Linked DNA regions of Homo sapiens: all the other regions are linked to region 3. The links are contacts of gene promoters, found by promoter capture Hi-C in blood cells and fetal thymus (Javierre and others, 2016). All regions are on one chromosome and are shown on one strand. Each heading gives the region's core, a stretch centred on a gene start or on the middle of the fragment in contact. The rest is flanking DNA. Distances are from core to core; before and after follow the strand shown.

Region 1 (3,163 bases), core at 444-2,943, 280 kb after region 3:
CTGGGAGGCGGAGCTTGCAGTGAGCTGAGATCGCACCACTGCACTCCAGCCTGGGCGACGAGCGAGACTCCGTCTCAAAAAAAAACAACCCTTAAAATCAAGTAAAACAAAAAAATATTTTTAAGAATACCTCTAAAATGTAAAAGGATTATTTTTAAAAAGATATGAGAATACTGATGAAAAAAGGAAAAAAAATTTTGGTAGAAGGCCTTCTAGTGGAGGGGCAGGTTGATGGGAAAGGGACACAGTTGATAGGACAGTACGGATTATGTTCTAGTTGTTACACTGGGTAGCAGGTTATGAAGTTCACGTTATTAAGCTTCTTAATTGGTTGGGCACGGTGGCTTATACCTGTAATCCCAGCAGTTGGGAAGGCCAAGGCAGGAGGATCTCTTGAAGCCAGGAGTTTGAGACCAGCATGGGCAACAAAGTGAGACTCTGTCTCTACACTTTTTTTTTTTTAATTAGCCAGGTGTGGTGGCACACACCTGTATTCCCAGCTACTCAGGAGGCTGAGGCAGGAGGATCACTTAAACCCAGGAGTTGGAGGCTGCAGTGAGACAATCTCACCTCTGTACTCCAGCCTGGGCAACCAAGGGAGACCCTGTCTCTAAAAGTAAATTAAGCTTCTTAACCTACATCGGCTTTCTTAATCTTGATACTACAGATGTTTTGGGTTGGAAAAATCTTTGTTGCAGGGGCTGTCCTCTGCACTGTAGGATGTTTAGCAGTATCCCTGGTCTCTACCCACTAGATGCCAGTGATACCCCCCACCACCCCACCCCCAGCTGTGAAAACAAAAAATGTTTCCAGACATTGCCAAATGTCCCCTGCAGAGCAAAATTGCTCCCTGGTTGAGAATCACTGATCTACATATATGTTATATATACTCTTGAATGTTTTAACTATTCCATAATAAAATTAGTTTAAAATTGACGGGTAGAAGTTTCACTCTGTGAAACATAATCAGGAAGACATCATTAAGAGCTGAGTAAGCCAGAGCCTGCCGGAGTCCTTTGAAGTGACAGTGCTGAGCGGTGTGAGCTGACAGTTTCAGGAGGGTTTTGACTAGCAGATGATATTTCTATAAATTGTACTGGGTATCAGAAATCAATGACTCTACACTGGAGAAAAATGTCTGCAACCTTTCTTAATTCTTTGGGAGATCTAAAAGCTTAGTTTAGCCTTTTAGGACACCATTTAATTTTTTAAAATCAATTATGGATTTTTGAAAATGGGGCTTTGTGTTTTTATATAAACCCTTTCTTCCAAGGTACTGAAAGAGATTCATATATTTCCTTACCTTTGGGGAGTTGTCTACGTCTGTAAAGTCATCACATATCTAACAGTGGCCCCCAAATGACTGGGAAGTCTCCAGGAACATGATCCAGAGAAAATAACACTGCCGTTCTAGGATGATGCATGTCTGACAGCCCATGCTCACTATTGTAACCCATTAACCTTAGAGCCTCCCCAACTCTGTGGCTTTACTTGATAGCACCTATCTGGATTCTTTCCTTCTTTCCTTCCTTCCTTCCTTCCTTCCTTCCTTCCTTCCTTCCTTCCTTCCTTCCTTCCTTCCTTCCTTTCCTTCCTTCCTTCCCTTCCTCCCTCCCTCCCTCCCTCCCCACCTCTCCCCCCTCTCCCCTTCTCCCCCTCTCTCCCCCTCTCCCTTTCTCCCCCTCTCCCTCTCCTTCTCTTTTCCTTTCTTTCTCTCTCTCTCTCTCTCTCTGTTTCTTTCTTTCTTTCAGACGGGGTCTCGCTCTGTAACCCAGGCTGGATTGCAGGGGTACCATCAAAACTCACTGCAGCCTCAATTTCTCAGGCTCAGGAGATCCTCCTACTTCAGCCTCCTGAAGTGTTTAATTAGCCATCATGCCTGACTAATTTTTTTGAAAAATGTAGAGACAGCATCTCACTGTGCTACCCAGGCTGATCTTAAACAACTGGGCTGAAGCAATCGATCCTCCAGCCTTGGTCTCCCAAAGCGCTGTGATTACAGGCATGAGACGGCAAGCCCAGCCACCTATTTGGTTCTTATATTTGTACTACAATTCCATTTAACTCAGATGGAGAGAGTTTATTACCTTCATTTTTAAAAATGGAGAAACATAGACACAGAGAGGATACATGACTTTTTCAAGATAACAGAATCCAGAGTTAATTGATTAGAAATCGAACTGGCATGAAAATCAGGTGTCTTGAAGCTTGGTCTTTATGCTTTTTTTTTTTTTTCCTAAACCAGGCTCTGAACTACGTTTGGACATGTGTGAGTATGTTCATGCAGATGTGTGTGCATGCACATGCACGTGCACACACATCTGTGTGTCTGTGGTTTGGGGATATATGTTTGTTTCTCTGTGGATAAGGTGTCAAGGAGAAGACAAGGCAAAGGATTAAAGAGAGGAGCTAGGAGGAAAGGCGTGAAAGAAAGAGCATGAGATTGCCAGGGTGCAGTGGTGCAGCCCTATAGTCCCAGCTACTCAAGAGGCTGAAGTGGGAGAACTGCTTCAGCCTGGGAGCTCAAGACCAGCCTGGACAATATAGCAAGACCCCAATCTCAAAAAATAAAATAACATAAAAAGAGTGTCAGATTCAGAAGATGCCTTGGGCAGGAACTCTGTGGGTCTCAGTTCAACAGTAAAAGGTTATAGAATAATTGCAAGAATCTTCTACAAATATTAGTATTTTTTTAGTAGAGCTACTCAGAAGGCTGAGGCAGGAGAATTGCTTGAATCTGGGAGGTGGAGGTTGCAGTGAGCTGAGATCGTGCCACTGCACTCCAGCCTGGGCAATAGAGTGAGACTCCATCTCAAAAAAAAAAAATACATATATATATATATAAAAAAATATATATAATATATAAATATATAAATATATAAAATATATATAATATATAAATATATAAAATATATAATATATATAAATATATAAATATATATAAATATATAAATATATATAAATATAAATATATATAATATATATATAAATATATATAAAATATATATAAATATATAAAAATATAAAAATATAAATATATATAAATATATAAAAATATATAAATATATAAATATATACAAATATATATAAATATATAAATATATAAAATATAAATATATAACTATATAAATATATATAAAATATATAAATATAAATATATATA
Region 2 (3,561 bases), core at 239-2,738, 300 kb after region 3:
GAAGGAGCTCCATCACACCTGTTAACCTTATTTGCTGTAATGACTAATGCCTTAATTTTTACTTTTTGCCCCCAGAGTCCTTATGGGCTAAATTTATTATTTCACTTTGACAAATGTGTTGCTTTGTAAATGTAATAAACAGCTTCTCAGGCATCTGTTTAATCTCCCTAGTCTCAGACTGAAGGCCACATGGGAATTGAGGGAGTGACTTTCCCCCTTTTTGAGATGCTGCCACACCACCTAGTACCACACTCAGCCGAGAGTAAGCACTTAATTTGTCAAACATATTTATTGAAAGTCTTAAGGAGAACTGTCTGTGGAGCCAGAAGCCCTAATATGAATCCTGGCCCTGTCACTTCCTATCTGAGTAAGCTCTGGAGAGTATCTCAACCTAAGTCTCAATTCATTCCTTAGGAAAAGAGACATCGTCTTTTCTGACTTACTTCATAGGGTTGATATGAGGATGGAATCAGATACCATTTGTGGAACCTTGGTAAATGTAAAGCATTACAGAGGCAAATTAGAATTAGTATCCCTTCCCTCTTCTTGCCAGCTTCTTGCCCCTGCCTTTCACCCTGAACCCCACTAAACGTCTACTTTCAGTCTTAAAATCTTGTTTATGGTATGTTTCTGCTAGAGTTTTGAATACCTTCCATATTTTCTGACCATCAGTTGAGAATGCTTATACTTTAGGTGTATTTTTATTTATAAATTATCTCATAAATTTCTCTCTTTCCCCCACCCCTATGTTACAAAGCATATAGCAAAATTAGATTTCAAAAGGATATGGTAAAGCTGAAATTGCTAAGAATATTGTTAAGATATTTTAATTTTATGTTTAGTATAATTTTAGTCTCACCTAACTATATTACTAAAACTCCAGATGCTTCTTTTTAAATCATGATGGCATGATTTGTTCATTATGATGGCCTCATGCTCTCACTTGCTAAAATGGCCAAGGAAAAATATCTACTTGGAATGAGGCTTCCTGCTAACAATACTGGGTATAAACTTCATGTCATCTTCTTGATAATTACAGTTTTTGTAGGAGTAGGAAAAATGTCTGTTTTGTATTTCTCTGTTGTTCACTTACATTGGAGTTACTAGTTTTACCTTCAACCCACAGTTTCTTTGCGGAAATCTTTTTAACCATTCATCCATTTTATGAAGATTAACCACTCGTACACGTCAAGTCCTCTCAACTTTTTATCACATACAAATCTATTGGCATTACCTTCCAAATTGTCCAGAACCCCTCCCTTGCCATATCTTCTGCCAGCACCCTGGACCAAGCCACTATCATATGTTGGCTGAATTATTGCAAATGCCTGCTTCCCTGCTTTCCTCCTATGGCCACTTCTTCACAGGACAGCCAGACACTGCTATCCTTCTCAAATGAGTTAGGGCATGTGCCTCCTGGTTCCAAACCCTCCAGTGGCCTCTCATCTCCTGCAGAGTAAATTCAAAGGACTTGCGATTTCCTGCCCACCCTACTGTTGGCTGTGCCCATCGTGACCTGTCATCTCCTCACACTCCCATCTTTGCTCACTTGGCTTTAGCCTCACTGGCCTCCTAGCTGTTCCTTAGACACACTTGCAAACACATTTCCACCCCAGGATTTTACACTTGCCAATGTCTTTTCCTGTAATCCTCTCTTCTCACCTCTCTGCCTTCATCCTCCCTCACTTTCTTCAGAGCCTCCGCTCAAGTGATACATATAGGTGCAGACTTCCTTGACCATTCTAGGTGAGATAGCAGCCCTCTACTCCATCCCACCTCAGCAGCCCTCCACCCCATCCCACCTCTACCCCATCCTACCCTCTCTCTCTGGGCCCTGCTTTATTCTTTTCCATAGTGCCTGTCACCACCATCTGACATTTTATATATAAATATTTGTTTATTGTCTGTCTCCACAATTGAGAATATAAACTCCATTGAGAGTGGGCACTTTTGTTTTGTTTTGTTTTGTTTTTTTTGCTTATTGCTATATACTCAGTGCCTGGAACAATGTCTGGCACTCAATAAATATTTATCTTTAAATTAGTGGTCACTAATTACCTAATATCATTTCTATACCTCTAGTTGGTTGGTAAAGGGTGTTTCTGTTGAAGATGCTTTTATTCCTTCTTTCTTTTAGTTGTCTCCCTCATTAGATTATAAATATTCTATGCTTTATGGCCATTCCTAGTACTGCTTTTCTGGTGCCCTAGAACTACTGAAATCGTTATATGAAAACTGTGAATGTTGCCGAATAATGAATAGGGAATTCAGATGAAAGAGCAGATGATGTTTAAAGCATTTATCTCACAGTATTGTTTATCATTTTGGTCCATCCACCAGAGGGATCTGAAATGCCTACAGCCTCAGATGTGTGGGTCTTAAACCCAGGAAGACAAGGTCTTTCTTTCTTCTAATTTTAAGGACATTTTATAAACTGCACAGCAGGATGTGATATCTGTCCTGCAGACTAAACAGTTGAGGGACACAAAAGTCAACTGAGAAGGGCAAAGATCCTAAAATTAGCATTCTGAGTCTCATAAAATACTGTTTTTTTATTATTAATGTATCCTATGTATACTTATTTTTGTTTTTCTTCAAAGAAAAGACACAAAAGTAAATAGGGATGTCTTTAAGGCTCCAGAGGAAAGCTGATTCTCCAAGTCCTAGGATGTCGCTCTATGTAATGAAGGCCTGGTAGTCAAAGTCGTCTTTAGGCTGTAAACTCATTGAGGGCATGGATTGAACTTGCCCTTGTCTTTGCATCTCCAGCACTAGCACAGGCCTGGCATGTGGTGCTCAATAAGTGCTCATGAATTAATGAAAGCCAGGCCAATTGTAATGAGTTTATGAGGAATTATATAATGAGTCAATGATGGAGTCCTCCCCAACCCTCATTGGACATTGAATAAAAAAGTGTTTCTAGACCCTGTTGTTACATTTCCTTTGATCTGAGAATCATAAATCAAGTCAATGAGTCAAGTTATGCATTCCGAGAAAAGAAATAATTGAAATAATTTTAGATAAATGTTAGAGAAATACTAAGACAAGTGTCAGATAAGTAGTTGTCTTGGTATCTTTGGAATTGTAATGCTGATCACATACCATTATCCTGGCATTATTTTGTTTTATAAAGACGTAACTATGCACAATGAATTTGCTGTATTTGTCATGTGATATGATGGTGTTCAATGGCAGACTTTCTGTCAACCAGGCCTACCCTAGACTATTTGTGGTCATTGGCAATTCAGAAGTTCTAATCAGCCTCCTCCCCTGCCTCATTGTATGACCTTAGGGAGGCTCCTTAGCCTATTTTTGGCTCAGTTTTCTCATATATGGATTGGGAATCATTACTTTGTAATGTTTTTCTACTAGAGAATGATCTTAAAAGATTCTTAGCTGAGACTGTTTCTAATTTAAACACTGCAATTACCGGCACTGTAGAATCAATGATAGAATCAGAATTGATGAATATACAACATGATGTATTATTTTCTTTAAAATATTTCTTTTGGACACACAAGTGGCCAACAAACATATGAAAAAATTGCTCAACATCACGAA
Region 3 (3,437 bases), core at 476-2,975:
GGGAAAGAACACTGCTTCCTTCTGAAGGCTGGGACAAATGCAGCTATCACAGCCTGCCCTTCTACAATCTCTCAACACTGTGGTACGTGTGATAGACCTAACTTAGCGCCATGCCAAGCCTGATGGGAATCTCCTGTAATTTTTGTAAGGAGAGCTTTTTAGTCAGGGTTCAGCCCAGAACAGAAACTGCCCAAATATTTTTAAGAAGAAACAGAGTTACTATACAGTAACTGCCTCTTATCATGCTCAGTCTTCATGAGCTCAGTGCCCAGAGCTTTGATGCTTCTGCCTCACTTCTGCTCTCCAAATCTCATGCAAGCACATCTAATTGGCAGAAAATAATTTGCATCCAGCTCCCTAGCTGCAAAGATTATCTGGGAAATGTAGTTTTTAGCCTTCTAGCCTCTGTAGTACAGGAACACCCACTGGAAGGAAATGCTGGGTGCCCAGAGACCATATCCAGCCACATTTTCCTTTACTCAAACATTTGACCAGAGATCACTAGTACTGGTAACACCTGCCAACATTATTTCTCATGAGGGTTATGAAAAACACTGAAAAGGCACAAGGGGCAGTGTACACTATAACCACGTGGGGCTCCTATCTTCCTGTATTTCTTCCTATCCAGAGATGGATGGATTGTGGACTCTATGATTCAGAACTGATGTTTAGAGAATAAAAATAATAATAGTCACAAATGATTAATGGCTGAAATCCTGTTTCAGGATTTAGACACAAGAACTGCTCCACCGAGAGAATCTCCTTGGGGAAAGGGGCATATTTAGAAACATGCCATGTTAGGAGAACCTTAGAAATCATCAGTTTAGCATTTTCCAAAGTTTGCCAAAAACTTTTTAGATCCACATGATGCTTTACCAAAAACAAAGGGATTCAGTGATCAAATAAGTTTGGGAAACAGTGCATATCCCCATCCTGAAGAACCACGGTGCACATCAGCATATCGGAGGCTCTAGGAAGTCCTGCGGTAAGGGATCTGCTTAACTTTGGTCCACTGGTTTCCAAATGTATCTGGCCCTAGAACCTTTCCTTTTTTACACAATGCCTGTTAACCTTCTGAGGAATTGGAGTTCGACGGGACATGTGCTGTGAGGACTGGATCTAATACCAACTCCTCTTTTTCCATATGAGGAAGCTGAGGTCCAAGGCAATGAAGTTATTTGCCTGTGATCACAGAAATCCTGGGCAGTACAGGTGGGAATAAAACCAGAGTTTTTTCTTCTTCCTCACATGGCCTTATCAAAATTAATTGTCCTCCCTTACATCTCTCGGCATCATCAGTAAGGTAACAGCTACTAAGAGATGGGCTACTTAAGGAAAATCATACTTTAAACAGTACCCCACCAACATGGAAGGATTCTTTTACCCGTGGGGTCCCACAACCAACTTATCACAAAGGAAAAATGGGAGAACAGTCACTTAGCCTATGTTTACCCCTAAATGATCAGTGTTTTCAGACCAGCTGGGATATTCTTAGACTCATCTTTCTGTCAACCAAATCACAGACCATCACAAAATGACACCAAGAATACTAGTTATCTAGAATACTAGTTATCTATTACTGCAAAATAAATGATCCTGAAACCTAAAACAATAAACCTTTGTTATGCCTCAGTTTCTGTGGGAATCTTGGAGTGGCTTAGGTGTGTGGTTCTGGTGCAGCCTTTTGTGAGGTCACAGACAGAGTGTCAGCCAGGGATGCAGTCATCTGAAGACTTGACTGGGGCTGGAGAACCTCCTCTCAAGGCAACTCCCACACAAGCCTAGGAAGTTCATTCTGGCTGTTGGCAAGGGGCTTCTGTTCCTTGCCATGTGGACTGCTTGCCATAGGCTGCTTGAGTGGCCTCATCACAGACATGGTGGTTGGCTTTCCCCAGAGTGAGTAATCCGAGAGAGAGAGCAAGGAGGAAGCCTTGGTGCCTTTTATGACCCCAGTCTCAGAAGTCACATACCATCAATTCTGCCATAGTCTATCTTTATTTAGAAGTGAGCCATCATATCCCACTCACACTCAAGGGGAGAAGAGTTAGTTTCTCCCTTTTGAAGGGGGAAGTGTCAAAGAATTTGTGGATGTATTTTAAAACCACCACACCAAGAAAGAGTTGCAAGGGGGAAGGATGCTAATTAAATGACAAATAACAACAACAAACAAACAAGAAAGGCTGGGTGCAGTGGCTCATGCCTGTATCCCAGTGTTTTGAGAGACCTAGGTGGGAGGATTGCTTGAGGCCAGGAGTTTGAGACCAGCCTGGGCAACACAGGGAGACCCCATCTCAAAAAAAAAAAAAAAAAAAAAAAAGCCGGGCATGGTGGCTCGTGCCTGTAGCCCCAGCTATTTGGAGGCTGAGGTGGGAGGATAGCTTGAACCCAGGAGTTTGAGGCTTCAGTGAGCCATGATTGCACCACTGTACTCTAGCCTGTGCGACAGAGCAAGACCCTGTCTAAAAAAACAAAAAACACCCAAGAAACATTTTGAGGGTAAAAATCCATTTAGAACAAGAACAAATACTAAACAGAAACTCTGAAAGAGACCAGGAATTTAAATTTACATGGGACTTGATGCCCAACCTGAATCATTGGCATAAACATCCTTGAACTTCTTTGTAAAACAAACTTCTGAATAAAAGAACTTCTGAGAGAAAACTTCTATTGCTGGCACTGTGACTAGGGGAGTAGATGAAGGATTTGAATCAAGGATAAGCAATTCAGAGGGCATATCCAGTGGTTTGACATGTATCCTTCTAAGTTAACTTTTCCTTTCTCAAGACTTTCAATTTTCTAAATGTTCAATATCCCAACATGACCAAAAGGGTCAAATTCCAGCTCTAGTCTTCACATCTTTTTTTTTTTCCTTCTGAAGGTTTATATTCATTTCCCTATGCTGTCTGAAAGAAGATACCATGATCTAATTGCCTAAGAATTTATTTCCAAATAGTTGTTGACAGAGCCTGGAAGTCTCAGAAAGATCAGATGGATCGTATTCCTTCCTTTACTCAAGAGTTTTTTTTTTTTTTTAATTAAAACAAAAAACAAAAAACCCAGCAACAACTATGATCCCTAAAGAACTTTCCTTTGTGGCACCTGGAGTATTCAGTCAATCAACAAGCTTTTCCTGGACATATGATGGAGATGAGATGTTCTCTAGGACTCATATTGGAAGCTAAACAGAAAACAGATGCAGATACATACAATAATCACAAAAGTGGGATTGAGAAAGAGAGAGAGGAATGGGGCTGAGGCTACATCTAGGCAGCTGTGTGCAATGAGGTGGATTTATTAAGGAAAATGTTCCAGAAAAGATGAACTTAAAGCTATTCTAAATATTTGGGGGAAACTTGAGCAAAAGTTTGGAGAGAAAAGAATGAAGACTGAATTTTTAGGTCATCAAAGAGATGAACAAGGGGTGGGCTGGAATATAG

Evidence for each region. The method cuts DNA at HindIII sites, captures the fragments that hold promoters and counts their contacts. A CHiCAGO score of 5 or more calls a contact.
Region 1: a fragment that was not itself captured here is called in contact with the fragment with the promoter of KIAA2012-AS1 in region 3 in 4 of 17 cell types (megakaryocytes, erythroblasts, endothelial precursors and 1 more); the score reaches 7.6 in megakaryocytes.
Region 2: a contact is called between a fragment that was not itself captured here and the fragment with the promoter of KIAA2012-AS1 in region 3, in 1 of 17 cell types (megakaryocytes). The highest score is 6.7, in megakaryocytes.

Annotation. Positions count from the first base shown.
Region 1 is chr2:201,835,873-201,839,035 of GRCh38, reverse strand. The region is part of intron 8 of CDK15 (cyclin dependent kinase 15); the gene reads right to left. Among named protein-coding and RNA genes, the nearest start is that of CDK15, 31 kb to the right of the region's middle. The HindIII fragment of the contact is 1,033 bases long and covers 1,177-2,209 here.
Region 2 is chr2:201,817,376-201,820,936 of GRCh38, reverse strand. The region is part of intron 4 of CDK15 (cyclin dependent kinase 15); the gene reads right to left. Among named protein-coding and RNA genes, the nearest start is that of CDK15, 13 kb to the right of the region's middle. The HindIII fragment of the contact is 4,348 bases long and covers 1-3,561 here.
Region 3 is chr2:202,115,346-202,118,782 of GRCh38, reverse strand. KIAA2012-AS1 (KIAA2012 antisense RNA 1) reads left to right here and starts at 1,725. Exons shown (of 4, transcript NR_135244.1): 1 at 1,725-1,896; 2 at 2,879-3,437. The region is part of intron 11 of KIAA2012; the gene reads right to left. The HindIII fragment of the contact is 4,910 bases long and covers 1-3,126 here.